Regions from separate parts of the Homo sapiens genome. Here all the other regions are linked to region 4. The links are contacts of gene promoters, found by promoter capture Hi-C in blood cells and fetal thymus (Javierre and others, 2016). All regions are on one chromosome and are shown on one strand. Each heading gives the region's core, a stretch centred on a gene start or on the middle of the fragment in contact. The rest is flanking DNA. Distances are from core to core; before and after follow the strand shown.

The links. The method cuts DNA at HindIII sites, captures the fragments that hold promoters and counts their contacts. A CHiCAGO score of 5 or more calls a contact.
Region 1: a contact is called between the fragment with the promoter of COX5B here and the fragment with the promoter of COA5 in region 4, in 2 of 17 cell types (neutrophils and megakaryocytes). The highest score is 6.4, in neutrophils.
Region 2: a fragment that was not itself captured here is called in contact with the fragment with the promoter of COA5 in region 4 in 1 of 17 cell types (activated CD4 T cells); the score reaches 6.2 in activated CD4 T cells.
Region 3: the fragment with the promoter of ACTR1B here is called in contact with the fragment with the promoter of COA5 in region 4 in 1 of 17 cell types (monocytes); the score reaches 9.4 in monocytes.
Region 5: a contact is called between a fragment that was not itself captured here and the fragment with the promoter of COA5 in region 4, in 1 of 17 cell types (monocytes). The highest score is 7.8, in monocytes.
Region 6: a fragment that was not itself captured here is called in contact with the fragment with the promoter of COA5 in region 4 in 1 of 17 cell types (monocytes); the score reaches 5.6 in monocytes.

What each region holds. Positions count from the first base shown.
Region 1 is chr2:97,644,590-97,648,259 of GRCh38, reverse strand. It overlaps COX5B (cytochrome c oxidase subunit 5B), which reads right to left and starts at 2,198. Exons shown (of 4, transcript NM_001862.3): 1 at 2,071-2,198; 2 at 1,120-1,193; 3 at 817-916; 4 at 1-264. The coding sequence starts at 2,173. The coding sequence ends at 152. RefSeq lists enhancers at 2,094-2,273, 2,454-2,503, 2,306-3,240. The HindIII fragment of the contact is 14,381 bases long and covers 1-3,670 here.
Region 2 is chr2:99,474,808-99,478,560 of GRCh38, reverse strand. The region is part of intron 1 of REV1 (REV1 DNA directed polymerase); the gene reads left to right. Among named protein-coding and RNA genes, the nearest start is that of REV1, 13 kb to the left of the region's middle. RefSeq lists an enhancer at 2,301-2,964. The HindIII fragment of the contact is 9,790 bases long and covers 1-3,753 here.
Region 3 is chr2:97,662,633-97,666,198 of GRCh38, reverse strand. It overlaps ACTR1B (actin related protein 1B), which reads left to right and starts at 2,155. Exons shown (of 11, transcript NM_005735.4): 1 at 2,155-2,356. The coding sequence starts at 2,309. LOC124900516 (U4 spliceosomal RNA) reads left to right here and starts at 1,468; the gene lies at 1,468-1,608. It also overlaps a transcript of C2orf92 not described here and the pseudogene RNU4-8P. RefSeq lists enhancers at 1,637-1,976, 3,017-3,086, 3,052-3,566 and silencers at 2,057-2,516, 2,597-2,656. The HindIII fragment of the contact is 7,381 bases long and covers 1-3,550 here.
Region 4 is chr2:98,606,552-98,610,451 of GRCh38, reverse strand. It overlaps COA5 (cytochrome c oxidase assembly factor 5), which reads left to right and starts at 1,940. Exons shown (of 3, transcript NM_001008215.3): 1 at 1,940-2,145. The coding sequence starts at 2,047. UNC50 (unc-50 inner nuclear membrane RNA binding protein) reads right to left here and starts at 1,863. Exons shown (of 6, transcript NM_014044.7): 1 at 1,726-1,863; 2 at 413-696. The coding sequence starts at 692. RefSeq lists a silencer at 1,636-1,735 and an enhancer at 1,799-2,788. The HindIII fragment of the contact is 2,113 bases long and covers 1,168-3,280 here.
Region 5 is chr2:97,748,846-97,752,372 of GRCh38, reverse strand. It overlaps a transcript of ZAP70 not described here. Among named protein-coding and RNA genes, the nearest start is that of ZAP70, 37 kb to the right of the region's middle. RefSeq lists an enhancer at 3,521-3,527. The HindIII fragment of the contact is 568 bases long and covers 994-1,561 here.
Region 6 is chr2:97,768,841-97,772,434 of GRCh38, reverse strand. It overlaps TMEM131 (transmembrane protein 131), which reads left to right. Exons shown (of 41, transcript NM_015348.2): 33 at 11-138. Among named protein-coding and RNA genes, the nearest start is that of ZAP70, 57 kb to the right of the region's middle. RefSeq lists enhancers at 1,295-1,807, 1,808-2,321. The HindIII fragment of the contact is 528 bases long and covers 1,910-2,437 here.

The DNA.
Region 1 (3,670 bases), core at 949-3,448, 960 kb after region 4:
TTTTCCCAAAATAAGCATATTCCATGCCTACCAAAGAATACGGGTAAGAAATAAGACCAGCCATCTATGGGAGAAGGAGCCAATGCAATGGCTAGTCTTTACTGGAAAGAAGAAACTTTACAGCACATTTTGAGTAATTTAGTGCAGGTGCTCAGTGTGCCAGCTGCTGGGGCACCAGCTTGTAATGGGCTCCACAGCGGGGGCATCGCTGGGCCTCGCCTTTGTGCAGCCAAAACCAGACGACGCTGGTATTGTCCTCTTCACCTAAAAGGGAAAAAAGGTGGTTTATGGTCATCCAACCTAGAAAGGGAGACTTTCAACATGAATTTCTTTTCCTCAGACATCTCTGATACACAAGTAAGACTATGGTTGATATCTTAAGAGATCAGTTCAAGCCCTCCTCCCATTCTTCAGATGAAGAAATTGAGGCTCTGAGTTCACCTATGAGTAAACTGACCTTGTATCAAGGTCACTGTAAATTCTAACAATTCCCTTGCCTATGTAGAACGCAAAGCAGGGTCCGTTCTGGTATGTATCCCTAGTGTCTAAAATGATGCCTGGCATAGAAGCAGTATAACAATAAATATTTGCTGGGTGGGTACTCCTTCATGCCGCACTCCCAGTGAGCCAGTCTTACCGCTGTGCTGCGCTTCTTTCCAGTAAGGATGAACTATCAGGCATAATGAGGCTTGAGAGTGTCAAGACCCTTAGACAAACTTACCAACATGCACTCACACACTGAAGATTTGAGGCAGCTTACACACTATTGTAGGATATATTAAGCAAGTGGATAAAAAATAGAGGTGAGGTACTTACAGATGCAGCCTACTATTCTCTTGTTGGAGATGGAGGGGACTAAATTAGGGTCTTCCCTGGTGCCTGAAGCTCCCTTTGGGGCCAGTACATTGTATGGGTCCTGAAGAAAAAACAAAAAACAAAACAAAACAAAAAAAACAAGAATTGAACCATTAGGCCAAATAAGCCCTACCTTCCAGAAGCTCAGGGGACTGTTCCTACAAGCCAAGTTTCCTGTATCAAATACTCCCAGAGAGGAGACCACTATGAACACATCCAAGGCCATAAGTTACACAGAAGACACAGAAGGGAGTTTCTCCTTACCAGTCCCTTCTTTGCAGCCAGCATGATCTCCCTCTCCAACCCAGTCGCCTGCTCTTCATCAGTGGGAACACCACCTAAAGGAAGATAACGTGAATTATGACGCTGACTGAAATGACTGATAGAAAAACTACAAACAGAAATGATCAAGGAAAATGGTGCCCCGAAACTTCTGTATAAGTTTTAGCGGGCTCACAAGCTCCTAAAGGCTACTCATATCCATGGTCCCCTAAGAACCACCAAGTACCCATCCACACAAGCGGCAGCACTCGGGGGAGCTTTTTTTTTCTTTTTTGAGACGGAGTTTTGCTCTTGTTGCCCAGGCTGGAGTGCAATGGCGCGATGTTGGCTCACGGGAACCTCCGCCTCCCGGGTTTAAGCGATTCTCCTGCCTCAGCCTCCCGAGTAGCTGGGACTACAGGCGCGCGCCACCACGCCCGGCTAATTTTTGTATTTTTAGTAGAAACGGGGTTTTACCATGTTGGCCAGGCTGGTCTTGAGCTCCTGACCTCAGGGGATCTGTCCGCCTCGGCCTCCCAAAGTGCTGGGATTACAGTTGTGAGCCACCGCGCCCGGCCTATGAGCTTTTCTTTCTCCAACCACCGAGGCAAATTTGTCGACATTTGTCTAAAAGCATGTAGAACCCACTCTGCTTGAGGTGGGCGCAGGTTTGAAGGGAGGCCGGACCCCTCCCCATCCCGGTGGCAGCCCCGGTCCCTCCCAAGGTCACCCGGCACCTCCGTTTAGGATACTTTCGCAGCGGAGTGAGTTCGGGGAGCGGCAGGAGCAGCGGTCCAGAATTACAGGGAGATGCCTGCAGAGCCTGAGGCACTGGGGACCGTAAAGCGGCCACTGGGACCTCGAGAAGCTGCACGAGCCGCGCCGCTTTGCCGCCCTGGGACCACCCTGGGAGGGCAACACTCTGGTCCCTGGCACGCCCGGAGACCCGAGTACCTCCAGATGCCATGGAGCGCATCGCGGCCGCGCCACTGGGGCCGCGAGCCCTCAGGGCCTGCGCGGCCAGCGTTCCAGCTCCGCGAAGTAACCTTGAAGCCATTGCGTCCGCGACTAGCAGCAAAACTTCCGGGAACAAGCTGCAGAGACAGGAGGGACTTCCGGGGGCGGGCTTCTTTCTCCTCTCGGTCAGCTTTCGGCTTCCTCCCAGCCCTCGAGCCCGCCCACTCCCAAGACTGTGGCGGGGGCGGAAATTGCGCATGCCCAGCTCTGCCTCTTTCTGCACCGCGTAGTGGCTGAGGCTTGGGGGCGGGGTTGCCTTTAATAACGCTGGGAGGTGGGAAAGTCTTTTTGGTCCCTGGAGTTGAGCGGCTGAACCACATTGGAGTTCCTGTGGGTCTGGCCCCGTAGTCGTGTTCAGCAAACGTGGAGGCTGCTAATGGAAGCTATTAGGTCCCCGTCTGTGAAGAGACTTACTGAACCCCAAATGATTTGAATTTAGAAGTGGGCTCCTAAAGATCACTGCGTTCCTTACTAGGCTGGTTAGTGGCAGGGCTGGTTCTGGCAGTGCGTGGGCCGTCGCGAGCGTGTCGCATTGGACGGGACCTACCTGCAGTCCTGGCCCAGTTTCGTGTTAGAGTTGTACTGTGTGTGGGAGGCGCGGAGGTCCCGGCCTGGGGAGGAGGACAGGGCCGGGGGCGGGACCCCCTACCAGGACCAAGGCCCTGGTGATGTGAAGGAAGTGGCCACTCTTTTTCGAGGCTACTAAGGGAGGAGGAGCAGGAAGGGGAGTTGATAATAGGAAATGGAGTTAGAGCCTGCTGTGACTGGAGTTCCTTGTTTGAAACGGAAAACATATTCCGTCCATGGCTTCCCGTTGCCCATAGGCTAAGATGTGCAAATTTCTTAGGGTGAGCTTTAGTCAGTATAGCCCTGTGACAGGCTAGCTGCATGCGGTATCTGAGTTTCCCTACCAGATAGAAAAATCCCCTTAGAGTGGGAATTAATGCTCATCATTGAATCTTCAATGCCTTGCAGAGGTCTGGTATATAGTAGGATCCAGTAATTTTAGTAAATTTACTACTTGGATAGAGTATACAAAACCAGTTTATAGGGCTTTTCCTGGCCCAGTGAGGTCAATTGGAGGCAACATGGGGAGAGTTGAAGGCTTAGGTGCTCCCGCCTGTCTCATGCAGGCTACGGTATTTTCAAAAGGACGTGGTGGAGCGTTGCTTCACAGGAGCACGTCTGGTCTTCCTGGGTGCCCCCTCCACCAATTAAAAAAAAAAAAAAAAAAACCCTGTATTCTAAGGCCAAAATTTCTTTAAAGGTGGTTTTTGCTTTGAATGGCTTCACTGTTACTCCCTTCTCCCTCACCTCCACTGCAACCCCTCCAAGTTGAATTGGGCGAAAATTCTGAGGATCTGTAGTTAATTTGCAACTGTGGTTAAGGTCTTAGGCAGGAGAAAAAAGCATTGGTCTGGAAAGTAGCCCCACCAGCTAGTTCAGCTACTTTTTATCCTTTGGGCCGCCATTTCTACATCAGTAAAACTGTCGTTCAACTAGGTTAGTATTTCCCAAAGTGTATTGCATGGCATCC
Region 2 (3,753 bases), core at 924-3,423, 870 kb before region 4:
CATTTGGCTTTCCTGTGAGATTATACCACTTCTCCTTAGTGAAGATCAGTGGCTTCTTCCTCCTTCCTCTAGACTCTTAATTTTTATCATGTCATCTCTAGAACATTCTTTTGTGTTCCTTCGTAGCTTGATCCTGCTTATGGACATGCTGACTTTGAGATGTGTAGAACATCCTAGTGGAGATGCTTAATAAATGCAATTGGGCCATGTGGTTTGGAACACAGGAAAGCAGGAAAATTGAGGGGAAGGTGTTTGGAAAGTGGGTGATTTGGCCGCACTCTGGAAAACTAGAGAAGGCAGTTCTCTTTGGTACTTTCTATTTTTTATTTTTTTGAGACAGAGTCTCAGTGTTGGCCAGTGCAGTGGTGTGATCTCAGTTTCACTACAACCTCTGCCTCCCGGGTTTAAGTGATCCTCCTGCCTCAGCCTCCCGAGTAGCTGGGACTACCTACAGGTGTGCACCACCACGCTCGGCTAATTTTTGTATTTTTATAAAGATGGGATTTTGCCATTTTGGCCAGGCTGGTCTCGAACTCCTGACCTTAGGTGATCCACCTGCCTTGGCCTCCCAAAGTCTTGGGATTACAGGTGTGAGCCACTGTGCCTAGCCTCCTAGGTACTTTATTAAAACAGTGTCTCTACTTCTTTCCCTTTCTATGGAAATCTGTAATTGAAGGGAAGAAAAGCATTAGTCGTTGTTTCAGGAAGCCCCCTTCAGTTTGTATTAACTATTGATTTTGTTAAATCAAGCATCTTTTTTTGGTAGTTATGAATAACAAGAAGAATAAGAGAAAACTCTTTGTTGTATTGAATTGTTTGGGATAGACGCTTTCCTTTTAATCAGATCAGCCTCAAACTGGGACATACAAATGTTTGTTATACATTTTCAGGTTTAATATATCCAAATATTTTTTATACAGTACATCTTATTGTTTGTCTATTTTTAATTTATATAGATATTGAATCAAAATCATATTAAAATGCTCAGATGTACTTATGCATTAGGGTACAGGCTAAGCTGCTGTAACAGGGACTTCAGAATACAATGGAACAAACAATTTTTAAGTTTTTCTTTCTCCTGTAATAGTCCAGAGGTAGATAGGCAGTCCGTAGTAGGTGAGCACCTCAGTGTTTTAGGGGTTCCACAGTTCTCTGTGTGCTTAGCCCTTCCATAGGGTATTGTCCTTATTCCCATGGTTGAAGCTGGGTTACCTCACAACTGCATCCCAGAAAAAGAAGTAAACAGCTTTCTTTAGGAATATGGTTCATATTTTTGTACACATCACTCTGCTCATACCTCCTTGGCCAGAACTTAGTCACATGGCCACCCCCGATTTTGAGAGGAGCGTGGGAAATGTAGTCTCTGGTTGCCCACTCTGCCTCCTGCTAAGAGGGGCGGGAGAGGTGTTCCATTACTAAAAGTAAGAAAGAAGAATGAATACTGGAGGACAGTGCCGTTTTGCCATCGTGGAGTTGGGGTCCCAAGACCACCCTCACTTATGAGATCAACTGCAAGTTTGGGGATCCACACCATCCTTAGGTTAAATAATTGGCTAGAAGGGTTCAAAGAACTCCTGAAAGGGCTTTTACTTATGGTTGGATTTATTACAGTGAAAAGATACAGAATAAAATCAGCCAAGGGAAGAGGTGCATGGGGCACACAGAAGAGTCCACTTACGAAACTTCCAGTTATCCTCTGCCAGCGAAGTTATGGACGGTGCCAACTTCTGGCACTGATGTGTGACACTACTCATGGAGATTGCCTATCAGGGAAGCTCACCCAAGCCTTGGTGTCCAGCATTTGTACTGGGACTTGGTCACTTAGATATGATTGACTGTTGGCATGGTTGACCTTTAGTTTTCAGCCCTTCAGGAGGTTGATAATACATGGCTCAAAGCCCTTCACCTTAAATCACAGTGCAAAACTATCTGGAGTGGCTCAAAGCCCCCAGGTAAACAAAAGCACTTAACAGGGTGGACATTATTATTATTATTATTATTATTATTGACAGATTCTTGCTCTGTCACCCAGCCTGGAGTGCAATGGCGCAATCTGGGCTCACTGCAACCTCCGCCTCCCGGGTTCAAGCAATTCTCCTGCCTCAGCTTCCTGAGTAGCTGGGATTACCGGCGTGTGCCACCATGCCCGGCTAATTTTTGTATTTTTAATAGAGATGGGGTTTCACCATGTTGGCCAGGCTGGTCTCGAACTCCTAACCTTGTGATCTGCCCGCCTCAGCCTCCTAAAGTGTTGGGATTACAGGCGTGAGTCACTGCTCCCATAAGGTGGACGTTCTAAGGGCTTAGAGGTTACCTCCCAGTCTCATCTTGGACCATGTGAAGGGGGGGAAAAGAAAGGATTACCTCCCAGGAACCAAGGGCAAAGGCCAAACATCTGTTTGGGTTAGGATTCTTACTGCACAGCCACATCTGTGGATAGGTACATCTTGTTGTTTTTTGGCAAGCATAGAAAAAGTTACGTAAAGTTGCATAATATGTATGTGTTTGTTGAAAGCGTTTTTAAAACTAGATGTGTAGAATCATACACATTTGTTTATTTTCATTTATTTATTTTTTTGAGACGAAGTCTCACTCTGTCACCCAGGCTGGAGTGCAGTGGCATGATCTCAGCTTGCTGCAACCTCCGCCTCTTAGGTTCAAGCAGTTCTCTGCCTCAGCCTCCGGAGTAGCTGGGATTATAGGCTCCCACCACCACGCCTGACTAATTTTTGTATTTTTTAGTAGAGATGGGGTTTTACCATGTTGACCAGGCTGGTCTTGAACTCCTGACCTTGTTATCCACCCACCTCGGCCTCCCAAAGTGCTGGGAGTACAGGCGTGAGCCACTGTGCCTGGCCTATTTATTTTTTTTTTGAGACAGAGTGTTGCTTTGTCACCCAAGCTGTAGTACAGTGGCTCAATCTCGGCTCACTGCAATCTCTGCCTCCTGGGTTCAAGCGCAGAATCATGTACATTTAAAAAATTGCAAAAGACTCTAGAATTTGTCAGGTCTGTAAAAAGTAAAAGTAGATGTACCTCTTCAAAGACTTTCCTCCCCATCTGATTAGAAATAAATAGTAACTTCTCTTAGAAGCAAAATTTATTCAAAGACCTGTGCTCCTAAATATTTGCCCTGGCATGCTTATACTGGTCCAAGCAAGCATTAGGTCATATCCTGTTCTCTTCCTTATTTAAAAGTGTTTTTATCCTTCTCAGCATTCCACAAGTTACTTCCTCCTTCCTTTGTTCTCCTCCACCTTTGCCTCTTTTAAAAAGTTCTAAGTTGCTAGCCAATCGGAACAAATACAGAATGTGAGGTCCCGTTCCAGCCAATGGAAACCAGACACAGCAGTATGATGGACGCATCAGGTTATAAATGACCCTGTCTCCTTTGTTCCTTGTACTCTCATGGCAAAACTGCTGGCGAGTGTACCTTTTCTGCAGGAAATAAAAATGGCCTTACTAAATAAATTAAATTTATGTTCAAGTGCTGTTTCTTTATGGCACCGGGGAACAAGCATTTCAAACAGGTCCAACTCTTTCCACATACGGAGGAACTAAAATATGACTGATTATGACTTGCTTAAGTTCAGAGAACCGGTTAGCAACAAAGTTGATGCTGTCTTTGAATCTCTACTTCTTTTTTTTTTTTCTTTTTTGAAACGGAGTCTCACTCTGTTGCCCAGGCTGGAGTGTAGTGGCACAATCTCGGCTCATTGCAACCTCTGCCTACCGCGTTCAAGTGATTGTCGT
Region 3 (3,566 bases), core at 906-3,405, 940 kb after region 4:
TAAGATGCTATGGCTAAAAGAGCAGTTTAGTAATGCCTGCAAGGACAAAATCCTACAACAACAAAATGTCCAGATGCTCCAATATTGCCTAACAATATATGATTTAAGATAGTTATAGTTACAGGACTCGATGGCTCACACCTGTAATCCCAGCACTTTGGGAGTCCAAAGTGGGTGGACTGCTTGAGCTCAGGAGTTCGAGACCAGCCTGGGCAACATAGCAAAACCCGGTCTCTACTAAAAATACAAAAAAATTACCTGGGCGTGATGGTGCACACCTGTGGTCCCAGCTACTTGGAAGGCTGAGGCAGGAGGATAGCTTGAGCCTGGGAGGTGGAGGTTGCAGTGAGCTGATATCAGGCAACTGCACTCCAGCTTGGGCAACAAGGTGAGACCCTGTCTCAAAAAAACAAAACAAAACAAAATATATATATATATATATATATATATATATATATATAGAGAGAGAGAGAGAGAGAGAGAGAGAGAGAGAGAGAGAGAGAGAGTCATGCTTTGATGTATTTATGCATTAAAATGCCAAGGATAACTTTCTTTAAATCAAAAAGCACTAAATTTTGTTATGCTGTCAGCCCACCCTCATGTAGACATAGCTTAGTTTTTACATAGATAAGACCCCTCTATAAGAAGAGTTTAATATAAAGAGGGTGTGTTCCCCCTCTTGCTTTCTGAGGATGGCCTACTCTGTAACTGAGTAGCTTTCAATAAACAATCGCTTCTCACTGCACTCTGCAACTTGCCTTGAATTTCTTCTGGGCAAGATCCAATAACCCTCCCTTGGGGTCTGGATCGGGACCCCTTTTCCAGCAACAATATTGTTTCTTGAACTCGGTGGTTATGCAAGTGTGTCCACATTTTAATCATTCATTGAAATGTACATGTACACTTGTGATTTCTGCACACCCGCTTCAATTTTACAAATTTTATGCTCACAACCCATTGGGAGAGGTATATATACAGGGAAATAACTATGGATCCGTTTGGTAAACAAATGTAGAACTCAACTATCCTGCACTCTTGAAGCAGCTGACTCCAGTGCCGCAGGGGGCTACCTGCATGCCAATTCCACACCCAATAATCTTGGGCAGGTTACCAAAGTGTGAAGACCCTGACTGAAAAATGGGAGTAATAATACAACTACCTGATATTGTTGCAAGGATTTAATATAACTTATGTAAAGTGGGCAGAAGTGCTCCGCAGGCACAGAGCAGGTGCTCAATAAATGCCAGGACCAAAATACCACGAAACTGTAATTTTTATAAGGAAAAGGATCTTTTCTTCAGTGCTCAACGAGGAAATATTATGGGGCCGTGCGCAATAGCTGACGCCTGTAATCCCAACGCTTTGGAAAGACTAAGCGGGAGGATCGCTTAAGCTCAGGAGTTCGAGGCTAGCCCGGGGAACATAGCGAGATCCCTTCTCTACAAAAAAAATTTTTTTTAATTAGCTAGCGTTGCGCGGTGGCCGTATGGTGGCCAATGAGGTTTATCCGAAGCGCGATTATTGCTAATTGAAAACTTTTCGCAATACCCCACCGTGACGACTTGCAATATAGTCGACATCGGCAATTTTTAACAGTCTCTACGGAGACTATTTCAGTAAAAATAAATAAATATGGTGCGCGCCTGTAGTCCCCCCTACTGGCTGGCGCGGGAGGATCGCTTGAGCCCAAGATTTCCAGCCTGAGCGACAGAGCAAGACACCTTACCTAGAAAAAAAGAAAAAATAAATATTTTGGGTGAAATATCCAGGGCCGGCCTCCTTGGAGAGGGCGCTCTCACGAAGGAGCGTGGCCCGAGGTGCTGGGACGCGGGAAAGACGTCTTTCTGGACCGGTGCTGGGACGCGGGAAAGACGTCTTCCTGGACCGGTGAATTTCCAGCTCCACAGACTCCGGCCGCGCGCACACCAGCCCAGCTCCACTTTCTGCCGCCCGCGTCCCCTTTAAGACGGAGCCATGACATCATCCCAGACACTGCGCAGCCTACCTTGGCAACGCCGCGACCACTTTTTTCCGGACGACCTCAATTGGCTGGCCAGCCTCCGGAGGCCCCGCCCCCTTCGCGCAGCCAGCCCCGGGCACCTGCTGTCAATCGGGCCAGGTGGGAGCGATGATTGGCCGCCGGGCCCGCCCTCCAGAAAGCCCCGCGGGGCTCGCGTAGGCTGCAGGCTCGGGGAGGGAGGGCAGCGGCGCCGCGTCGGGAGCCGCCGCCGTCCCGGTCCTCCCGCCCGCCCGCCCATCCGGTGCCTCCTGCAGCCCGCCTGCTGGGCAGGGCCGGCGCGGCCCGGCCATGGAGTCCTACGACATCATCGCCAACCAGCCTGTGGTCATCGACAACGTGAGGCCCGGCAGCCAGGGGGAGGGCGGGCGCCCCGCCCCCGGGGGCGCACGCGGCGGCGCAGGGAGAGACCCCCGCCCGCCTCGGCGCGTCCTCCGCTCACTGCGTGGCCGTCGCCCCCGCCGGGCCGCTGGCTTCGCCCCGGGGGCGCGCGCCCTCTTGGCCTTGTAAGGCCGGCCATGGGGCGAGCCCCCTCGCCCGCGTCGCAGAGCCTCTTCCCCGACCCCTCCCCGAGTCGGGCGGGGAAGTTCAGGAGAGCTTGAGTGACAGCCGGGCGGCCGGGCGGGGACGCGCCCCGGACTCTTCTCAGTTGAGAGTGCGGTTCCTGGGCAGGTTTCCACACCAGTTCCTTTCCGCGTCCTTCGGCCCTGGCTCTGGCTGCCTGGCGGAGGTGGGGTAGCATTTGTCATTTGCACACTGCTGGCTTTATCTTTGGGGCTGCACCCCGAGGCAACAAATGCAGGATGCTCTGTCACCCACATGTCCACCACCATCTGGTTTGCCTTTTGGCTACTTTGACTTTCTCCTTAAATGCTTCCTGTGCTGAGCAAACATTCCACAGCCAGCAGAGCAATGGAGAGTTCATGGCCACTCTTCCCAGTATCAGCAAGCAATTTGGGGTGATCGTTTGGAAGCCTCAGAGGAAAGATGTCATCAGGCTTCCTGTGGCTTTGTCCTTCAGCAGTGGGGCTCGGCTTGCTTTCACCTGCCTTAGGAAGATTTCTGGCTTCCGAGCTCTGATATGGGGAGAAGATAAGGGCTGGGATCTTTGAGTCTGCCCCTAGCTGGGTATGTGCGTCCGGTGTGCGGGCCTTGGAGTTTTTGGTAATGACTCACTTGTGCTCTTTCTGGGATCTGTCTCCCTCCCACATGACCCCGTGGGGTCCCTGAATGACTGTTTTAGAGTACCCATGTGGGTTCCCTGAGTCACAGCAGGGGATGTTTAATAAGGAGGTTAGCACTGAGCTTGGGGACGTGCTGTCACACCAGCAGGACGCTGCAGGAAGGAGCAGGCTACTTCCTTTCTTGACGTGCAAATAACTCGTATAGGCTAATCAACAGGCTTATAAGTTAAAAGGGCTACCGCTCGGCCCCTTGGGGATTCCATCCCCTCCTCTGTAACTTGGAGATGTTTGTTTCTGCTGCAGACTCAGAGGGTTGCGATGAAGAGTGGTGGGACTGAGTTGAGAAGCTTATCCCTTCGCTGGGT
Region 4 (3,900 bases), core at 691-3,190:
TACAGGTAAATGAGACCCTTGCATTATGGAATTGGAGAACTTCAGTTTCTCAGGTTCCCATCAATACCTTTACAATTCTCACTGTGGATTTGCCTGTGAAATGCAATTTCCAGTTTCATATTCCTATTCACAGTCAGCTGACATTTGGGTACCGATTCAAGTACTTAAAAAGATATGGAGTGAATCTTGTCCCCTGCTTTTCAATGTCCTAGGGTAACAGTTTACTCTGGCATCTGCTTGGGACCTGTAGAACCAAGACTACAACTTTCTTTCCTGTGAGATTTTTTGAGGCTTCAGTAAAAAGGAGAAATAGTTTCCAATATTTCCAGATTCTGACCCACAACACATTTATAACAAAAAATCTAATCAGAAACACTCAGCGTTCAATTCTATCTCAGATAAACACACTTACCACAGAGCCAGATACTTAACAGGACCAAGAAAGCAGGGTCATCTCTGGCCCACTGGTCCTTCGTCTGTTTTCGATAATGAAAATTTCTGTAAACTCTCTGTGGGGATGTGAACAGGTAGAGCATCTGCCAGGCAGCAAATTCAAAGTCCATTTGCCGAAAGCGGAAAAGCCTTCTCAGATATTTGTAGCGTTTCGCTCCGGCTGTGTGTCTTGCCGCATCCCTGGAATTCAAGACTCCGTTCCCCTGCACTAAGGAATTCACTGAAGTACTCGGTAACATCTTCCTAGATGGAAGAAAAACATTTCTTTTACACGTATTCTGAAGAAACATTTGGCTACCGACACTCCTCTTCTGAGTTATTTGGCAGGGAGGTCACTTTCCATGTTCTTCCCAACCCTAGAGAAAGGCCAGGAGTCAAAAGCAAATGCAGTTAGTTCTGAGGCGGGTCTTGGGGCTTGGGAACCGCAGACTGCAACCTCAGGCAAGGGCAACAGCCCACCCTTCTGAATCACCTAATAACACTTATCCAGGGGCAGCTACCATTACAGAGACAGGGATGATGTGACTGCCCCATGACTCCGAGGATAGTGATAGAGCCAAGATTGGAAATCTGACTCGAAATTCCGTGCTCTTAACCACCAAGCTTTTAAGAAAATGCCTAAGAAAGCAGTTTCAGCCGGTTAGAACAGTGTTACTGAAGAGGTCAAATAAATGGCCTATTCACACAGATCCATCAGCGCACTGCCAGCAAGCTTCTCGGTCACTAGAATGAGATTAAAAAACCAAGAAAAACTCCGATCCCTAGTGTTTTACATCCGGAATAGTTCAGCAGAGGGAGCGGTAGCGTCGGAGTCCAATCCAACCGGTCCGAGCTCCGGGGAACGCCGGCCACTGCCCGGCTGCCCGTCTCCCCTCCACTTCGCAGGCCCCCCAGACGCCGGCAGGGTCTGGCCGAGCCCAGCTGCTCCCTCCCTGCCCGGGGCCGCGGGTACGGCTGCCAGATTTAGCAAATAAAAACACAGAATACCCAGCTCCATTTGGATTTCAGACAGGCCACGAATAAGGTTTTAGTATGCCTACATCCCACGCAACATTTCGGACATGCTTATACTAAATGCTCTTTCTTTATCTACGATGCAAATGTAACTGGGCGTCCTTTCATTTTAGCCGCAACTCTATCGCCGGCCGAGGGGCCGGACGCCGACATGGTCACTGCCAGGCCGCAGCGACGTCAGGCCGCAAGCTGTCGGGATTAAATGGCCCCCGGCGCGAGCCCGGGCCGCGGGAGGGCAGAGTGGTCCTCAGGCCTCACCTGGAGTCCTGCTACAGCCTCGACCCACGTCCGAACCAGCCCACCACCTCCTCCCAGCAGCCGACCCCAGCCGCCACCGGGCGGGCTTCCCTTCCCTCAACGGAGCCGGCCCTTGGGGCGCGCCGCGTCACGGGAACCGACTTCCGCCGCGGACGCGCCACCTCTCGGCCCCCGTAGTCCTCGGCCCTACCGCCGCGGCCCGCCGGAAGTTGTTGCCGCTGGCTTCCGGTCCCCTGAGACTGGGGCCTCGCTCGCTCCCGACCCGGTTGCAAGTGTTGCGGTGGGAGAAAGTCGCGTCCGCATCGGAGGGGAAGCGCCGTCATGCCTAAGTATTATGAGGACAAGCCGCAGGGCGGCGCGTGCGCGGGCCTGAAGGAGGACCTGGGCGCGTGTCTGCTGCAGTCGGACTGTGTGGTCCAGGTAGCGCGGCCGGGCGCTCCCGGTGGTGACGACCCCTGTCCCAGGCAGGCCTGGCTCGGCGGAGGGCAGCGGGTCGCCCGCGGCGGCGGTTGGAGTTAACCATCCCGGGCGTAGGTCACAGCTCGGGCTCACTGAACGTGCGCAGATCCACTGAGCTGTCGGAGCCCCAGTTCCCTGTGGGGTTAAATCGGAGATAACGATAAACGCACCCTGTCGGGTTTTTGTAAAGGTTAACCCATTTCAGTTCACGAAGCCTTTATTGAATGCTAGCACTCTACTAGGCTTTGGAGACATAAAGGAGAATAAGCCAGGTTTCTTGCCTGCCTAGAAATGATAATCTGTAGAATTAATGATTCCAGAGAGTTGCGTAAACCTGGTACACTGCCCTGGCCAGTAGTGTCTCCTGCCTGTTCAGTTGTGACAATGTGTGCTCAGTTTGACTTGTGTTGATGTGAATTTGTTTCTGAGTTACAGTTCTCTGCATTCTTGGATGTTAAGTTGTAAAAATAAGGCAACTCCATATTTTCACGATTTCGTATCTTGCTTCCCCTACACTCTTCCTTCACTCCCCGGCTACAGACACAGGTCTCCTCAGCACCCTCTTGGAATGCACTGAAACATGTAGTGAGGTTCACAGTGGACCTGAGTTCTGGATTAGAGCTCAAGTAAAGCACAAGTGCCTTTTCCAATTGCAGAGGCCCGACGAGAGGGCATTCAATTGTGTGCAATTGTCTTTGCATTGGGGGATGTAGTTTCAGAAAGTTGCTGTTATTTCAGAGAAAAGATTACCCCCAAATGGACATCCACTGTAAGACTGTACCAGTGTTTCTACCGAGTCACAATTTGTTTGGTTCACTGATTTTAGCAGTCAGCCATTCTCGCCTCCCAATGTCTAGTAAAACTTGAGTTATTATAAATTTAAGAGATTATCTCGCCCAACTTCCTTATATAAATGAGGAAACTGAAGTACCGTTGTTTTCAGGCTCCCCTGTCCAGGGCTGTGTCCCTTCTGCCCCTTACTCACTGGTGCTGCCGTTCAGCCAGCTCCTGGTAAATGCCTCTTAAGTGGCAGGCATGGTACCTGACACTGGTGATAACGAAGATGAATCAGTAACAGTCACTACCCATGTAAGCTTGGTGTCATGGGAGAAATAGACATCTAAGGGTCTAAATTCCTGCCATAAGACTGTAAGCATTTATTAAACATGTGTTTAATGACTAGATCTTGAGGAGAAAAATGCGTTAGCCCAAGGGAGAGCGTCTGATTTTGCTTCAGAATTTGGAATCTTCTGAGATGACATTTGAGCTGAGTCTTAAAAGTTGAGTAGTAGTTTATCAAGTAAAGGAGTGGGAACTGTTGTGGTTGTGGGGAAAATCTGAAAGAACAGCAAGTGCAGAGGCAGGGAGATGTGGGAGGGCGCAGAGGAGCTAGTGTCCTGCCATAGGGGAATGCGACAGAAGGCCTGAGGGGAAGGTTGCAGCCAGGTGTGAAGGCCTGTATGTGTGTCAGAGTGAGGAGACTGGATTTTATCCAGACGTTCAGCATCGGAAGGCCATGTTGATGAGTAGTCAAGGGAAGAAAGTACACTGAGTAGGACTGAGGAAAGAAACTCCAAGTGGAGGACAATAGCAGCAGCACAGAGAATTCCAAGCTGGCTTTCTGCAGCGGTTGATACAGCAAACATGTACGGAGCGCCAGGCTCCAGTTCAGGGAACAAATACTGATGAATGGAACATGGTCTCTCCAGTATAGAA
Region 5 (3,527 bases), core at 28-2,527, 860 kb after region 4:
TGATGTTACCCATAATTAGATAGCTGTAAAAATAAATTGGCAACAATATTAATTAAGCCAGGTAATTTTAGAGGTATTGCCAATAATGGTTACAAAACATCCCCCTGTGAATGAAATCCTGATAAAACATTTAAATGTAGACGTGAGCAGGAACTGGAGAGCTTGAAGGCCCTTCAGACCCCTCCAAGTAGACTCCATACAAATGCCTTCTGCCGTGGATTATAAATACATTCTGGTTATTGTTTGTTTATATTCACTGTGGATTGAAAATTTCCCTGCCAGAGTGACAAAAAGTGCTTGATTTTGTTTTCCAACCTGGAAAATCCCCACTTACTTCTAATGACAGAGATACTCCTTTTTCCAGACCAATGCTGTGGTTTGTTTGGCCCTGCTGAGTCTCTTGTTGAAATATGATCCCCAGTGTGGAAGGTGGGGCTTGGTGGAGGGGATGGAGCCCTCGTGAATGGCTTGGTGCCATTCTCATGGGACTAAGTGCTCACCCTTAGTGCCCACAAGAACTAGTTGTTGAAAAGAGCTTGGCACCTTCCCCCACCTCCCTCTTCCTCCCTTTCTCACCGTGTGGTCTGCACGGGGCTCTCCTTCACCTCCACCAGGAGTGCACCCAGCCCAAGGCCCTCAGCAGAAGCCAATGCTGCTGCCTCTACAGCCTGCAGAACCCTGAGCCAAATAAACCTCTTCACACATTACTCAGCCTCAGGTGTTCCTTTACAGCAACACAAAGGGACTAAGACATACTGTTATTAAGAAACACTGAAGTTGTGCCTTTAATCCAGAGATTTCACTGTCCTTGTTTTCTCCAGTCCTCTAGAAAAACAGAACTAATGGAATTTTTTTAAAAATAGCATACCTCTCAGAAACCTCCAAAATTCTACATCTTAAGAAATTACCATTAGCATTATACGATCAACCACCTCTAGGTCCCATGTTGCTTCTTATGAATTCATAACATGCCACTGTATACAGTTTGAAGCTTCATCCCATCTTAGATTCTACATGATTACATTTTATTTCCAGCTTTATCTCAACATAAATATGAACTATACAGTATATCCAAAACACACCCGCCTCTACGTGATCTACAGCTTCTGTACAAAAGGCACACAAAGACACGAAATTTATTGCTATTATAATAATATGCTCCCCATACGATCTGTGCTTCAGTGGGACACTACATCTTATTAGCCCATGTCAGGCTTATATTGGTCTGCCACACACTCATGTATATTCAGAGTGGTTAGATATGTTCAGATATTTACAACACCCACGTCTCCAGTAATCCATTCTTTGAAAGAATACCCAGCAATCCAGCGTAAAATTATCATAGATGATTCCAAAACCTTCCAGTAGCGATCCTTGATTTGCTCTTCATGCATACTCTGCAAACTCCAGTTCCCACCAAAGGAATAAAACGACTAGAGAGAGAGTTCAAAACTAGTTGGTAATTTTAGCTGAAGCCATAAACGAGACCACTCTGCTCTGAAAGTCCAACCGACTAATCTAAGTCCATTCTTTAGAGTTATCAAGGACAGTCATATAAGCTTTATTTTCCTCTTAGCCAGCAAAGGGACAGGTCATGCCATAACAAATACTCCTTTTTTATACCTAGAAAAACACCACAGGGGAACAGGACAGTTTGTGACTATTAGAAAAAGCCTTGACCTCTAAAGCCAACCCAGCTGGCTTCTGGAACATGCGCCCATTACCTGGAGGCGCTCTAGGCCCTTGTCTTGCAGACCTGTTACGAGGACTAACAGTCCTTGCGTTTCTCGTAATTACCTGTAAATGGTTGGCTAGTATCTCCTGTCTAGAGTTTTAGATGGTACTGCACACCATTTCTTTCATCATGCGATTCAACAACTCGCTTTACAACAGACAGGAAAAAACTGTTAACTCTGGTGTAACTATAGACTGCGTTCATTAGACACTCTTGAGCCAGCCTCCACTCCAGAGCAAACCCCTGACTCCATAGACCCACCCCCCAAATAAGCTAATAACCAAGGCCCACATCCTACAATTGCTACTTCCTGACACCCTCTTAGGAGACACCCCAGCTCACTGTTGTTTGGGTCCCCCTTGCTGCAGGGAGCAACAAGCCCAGCTGCTTTAACTGCGGTGCGTTGCTGCTGCACTGCGGGGAAGGGCGTTGACCATTTGGGTGTACACATGAGTGCAGTGGCATGGATGAGTGTGGCCTGGGTTCCAGTCCTGGCTCTGCCATTTACTGATCATGGCCCTTGGGCACACTCTGCCCCTCTCAGAGCCTCAGTTTCCCTATATGCAAAACAAACATCCTCAGGAGGATGGTGTGAAACATGAGGCCAAATAAATAAGTGGTAGCACTTCCTATTGTCTGTTACTGTGGTATTCCAAAGACATTTCCCAGTGTTAAACCCCTAGAAATGGCAACTTCCTGATGGGGATGGAACTCATTTGGCAGGGGGCATGAGGCCACCAATCTGGAGCCTCCTGAGCTCCTTGCCACTGCCTGGGGCCCCTCCTCCCACGCCCTCATCCCTCCCACCCTCACCACTGGGTCCACCGCCAGCCTGGGCTCCCGTTTGCCTCAGCCCCGCCTCTCAGCAGAACTGCGGCAGCATGTCCAGGGACAAGGTTCTTAGAGGGACTGGATTTGGACCATTCCTCCCAGCCAGATATTTTGCAGCAGGGAGAGGAGGCTGCATCAGATTCCTATGCCCACAAAGCACCACCTCCTTTTCCAGTTAAGGCAATGTGGGGCTGCAAATTTTCATGCATTCAGGATCCTTCTGTAACTTAATTCCTTTGCCGTCAGTCCCCTCCCGCTTCTGCAGAATGCATGCTCCTAGCAACTCTCACAGACCTGACCCCTGACAGTCATTGCCCACCCGGAACTCCAAAGCCAGCAGGGCTTGCTGCTGCCTAGAAAGACCTATTGCCATCATTCCCTTGTCCCTGCTCTATAAACGTCCTTTTGGGAAAAGCACTCCCATCTCCCTCCTTTCCCACACAGACAGCGCACTATGCGTGCTATTAGTCTGTGCCTTTTGTAAAAATAGGAAGTGTCAGCCGGGCGCGGTGCCTCATGCCTGCAATCCTAGCACTTTGGGAGGCCGAGGCAGGCGGATCCCGAGGTCAGGAGATCGAGACCATCCTGGCTAACACGGTGAAACCCCGTCTCTACTAAAAATACAAAAAATTAGCCGGGCTTGGTGGCGGGCGCCTGTAGTCTCAGCTACTCGGGAGGCTGAGGCAGGAGAATGTCGTGAACCCGGGAGGCGGAGCTTGCAGTGAGCCGAGATTGCGCCACTGCACTCCAGCCTGGGCGACAGAGCGAGACTCCGTCTCAAAAAAAAAAAAAAAAAAAAAAAGGGAAGTGTCACATCCACTGTAAGCAATACTCCCTCTACAAACGCACTCCCAGACTAAACCGTCACGGACCTAAGAAGAGCACATGAGATCCGCAATCAGCCCCGGGCTCATGGCCTCCCACGGGAGGGAAAGCCTGTGGCTCCGCTTTCAGGAGCAAT
Region 6 (3,594 bases), core at 924-3,423, 840 kb after region 4:
TTTTTTACAGGATACAGAAAAGCAAAAGGGAAAACAAGCCATGCCTGAAAAACATGAAAGTGAAATGTCTCAAGTGAAGCAAAAAAGCAAAAAACTCTTAAATATTAAGAAAGAAATCCCAACAGATGTGAAACCCAGGTGAGAGAAATAAGTGTACAGAGAAATAAGGTCTATAAAGAAGTTGCTGGCGAAAACCAGGTGCTGTTTTGATTTGGCCATTTGGCTGGCTGGTTGGCTTTTAGGGGAGTTGATAGCAAAATCCAGGTGCTACGTCACATTCCTCTTGGGATTTTTCTGTCACCTGATATGTACTGTTGTTGACTCGGAATAGCCATATGCTTCTCAAGTCAGATATGCAGAGGGCAGAGCTCACGATCTGTTATAAAAATTTAGGAGGAAAATTTCTGTTGGTGATTCAGTCCCAGGCTGAGATCCATTTTACTTCTGCACAAAGATGACCTTGACGATTGAACCACAGGTACAAGCATAACTTTCCTCCAAAAGATCTCTGAGTCTGTCGAATTGTTAACCCAGTTGGGATCTAGAGTTCCATGCCATAAAACTTGGAAAAGTTTATTCTTACCTTAAAAATGGTTCAGAGCAGGTGTCACCAGTCAGACGGTTCTACCATTAAATAACTCCAGTTCCTCCCCATGGAATGGGATTCAGTGGCCCCCGGGGAGGGCTTGTGCAGGCTGTTTCCCCAGGGAGATGAGTGAGTTGAACTGTTGGGTTATTAACTGAAGTTACTTCACATTTTCATTAAACCTTGGCTCAGCATCTACCTGATAATTTTAGTGTTGGTGCATCAGTAATACCTTTCCTGGTTCATTGTATAGAACTGTCATCAGCACGGGAGCTGCTGTCTACCCGCTTGTGGGTTGTGATCAGTAGAAAGTGACAGAGGAAGTCGAATAAATTAGGTGTAAATTTAAAAGGAAGACATGGCTTGTCTGTCATCATAAGTGTGGGCCATAGATTTGTGGAAGGTCTATTCTTACTCTGATCCTGGGAATCATACTTGAGTTTTGCAAAAACACCACTAACCTAGACTCTGTCCCTAGATTATATGGCTTCAGGCAGGGCCAGTCCTGTTCTATAGAACCCAAAAGCTAGTAAGAAATTAGTGATAACTGCAGTAAAATTTAACCTTGTCCCTGAATTTATGAAATAATACAGTATATGGTGGTGCTTAGTAATGAAGTATTTGTACCTAAAATTTACTCTTTTGTGGCAATTGTTAGTTCAAGTGACCAGGTCCCACAATTTGTTGAGAGCAGTCTGGCCCAGGTAGAAGGAACGTCAAGCAGAGTGGTATCAGGTGGTTGATCATTTGAAGGGGAGAGAGAAAAGGAGACCACCTCTTCTGAAGAGGAGGTTCACATACTTGGATCTCTCCTGAGAGAAATCCACCTGAGACACCAATATCCTGGCACCCAGGACAGGAATAACACTGGGCTACTAGCTAGAGATTCTTCTTCTTGGCCTTTTTCAGGCTTAGGTGAGTGATCAGATATTTTAAAGTAAATGAGGCTAATAAGTCCAAATAATGAAAATCCTCATTTTTACATTTGCAGAAATCTTGTGAGGTAGACAGACATGCAGTAATTCCTATGATGATAAATTTTAAAACCAGTGCATCTAAGAATTATCTTAGAGGTACCATTCCATAGGTGACTGTCACCAAATTGGCCCTGTTGATTAGCCCTCAGGCCTGAGCTTAGTATTGTTAAGCAGATAGAACACACTAATCCTAACCCCCATCCCTGTTCCACTGACTTACATTGTATTCTGATTTTTTTTACAAGTTGACCATCAGCAAATTTGCATTTGAAAAGTTAGTCAAAGACGTCGCTTGAGTGTCATTACCTTTGCAAGGGTTTTTAGTTCTCTTGTAAACCAAAAAGCTTAGAGTGGTCAGTCCTGAACCGCCTAGTCAAGGGGCAGTTATAGCAATAACCGGTGCTCTCTCAATATGTAGTTAAAAGATAAATCATTACCAGAACACAAATCAAGCCGTGTGCTTGAAACTGTCTTTTGTAACTGGAGAAATCTATATGCAACCTTTCTTCTATCCTCCTTTATCTGATCTCTTTAAACTCACTGATCTCTTGTTTTTCTGAACTCGAGGATGAAAGTATTGAGTCAGAATTTATTAGTTCATCAATCATTTAATCAAATAAAGACTGGTTTTTTTAATAACCGGAGAAGGTTGGCTTTCTGAACAGAGCCATTCTGTGACTCCACTGCATTCTGATAATAAATGTCAAACACTGTCACTCAGAATCACAGCCAGTACTAGCTTTAGTGATTCCTGAAATTCCTGTCACCTTTTAGTGTGTTAATATATAACCCCACATGTCTGAAGGACAGGTACACATCTTTTAATAAGATATGTCATTAATAAGGCATATATCATTGCTGTCTTTCGGAAGCTTTGTGAGAGGTGATAAAGCCAGAGGAGTGGCTCAGCCCCATCCATCCACACTCCCAAGAGTTGACCTCAAAAAAATCACTTGCTAGGAAATAGGAGGGTGGGGCTGCAGCAACAGAAATCTGATCTAACCGTGTTTTCCAGCTGTGGCAACATAGAAATGGGCCTGCAGACCTCCGGAAAACTGTAGTCTATGGCAGAGATGCCAAGGAATGGGAATCAGATCTCAGGCACTGAAGGTTTCTGCAGAACCAGGAAGGGCCCAGGGCATCCCTGGTTTAGGACCCTGAGTATTCACTGATCCTTTTGTTTTTCTATTTGTTTATCAACAGTATATGTTTACATAAATGTAATAATCTAAAATAAGCAAAAGAAGTAGATTAATCATATTATCTGTAAAAATCTGCTTAAATAACACTCTCAACTCAGGCCCAAGGGCTGTGAACACCACACTGCACACGCCAGCCCCAGACCTGTCAGCACTCAGAAAACCCTGCTCCACAGCTGGTCATGTCCCTAGCTGTGTCCTCAGCTCTGCCTCTCTCCTCCCCAGACAGAAATGTGTACTGTGTATTACAGGAATAAAAATAGGCCAGGCTTGAGTCAGGTGTAACGTTGTGAAAAGCAAAAATAAAAAGAATACGAAATCTCAGAATATTAAGAAAAAGAAAAACATTATTATTAAAAAATGGAGGAAAATATATTATAAAAATAAGCCAGGTGTGGTAGCTCACATCTATAATCCCAGCACTTTGGGAGGTCAAGGCAGGAGGATTGCTTGAGCCCAGGAGTTCAAGATCAGCCTGGAAAATATAGCAAGACCTTATCTTACAAAAAGTTTTTCTTTTAAATTAGCCAGGTGTGATGGCACACACCTGTAGTCCCAACTACTAGGGAGGCTGAGGCAGGAGTTAGAGACTGCATAGAGCCCAGGAGTTAGAGACTCAGGAGTTGAGCCCAGGAGTTAGAGACTGCAGAGAGCCGTGATTGCACCACTGCACTCTAGCCTGAGCAACAGACTGAGACCCTGTCAGTAAATAAATAAATAAAGCCTGGCATCTGAACCACCTGTTTTTCCTTTTTAAAAAGAATCACTTCAGTCTGGGCACGGTGGCTCACACCTGTAATCCCACTGTAATCCCAGCACTTTGGGAGGCCAA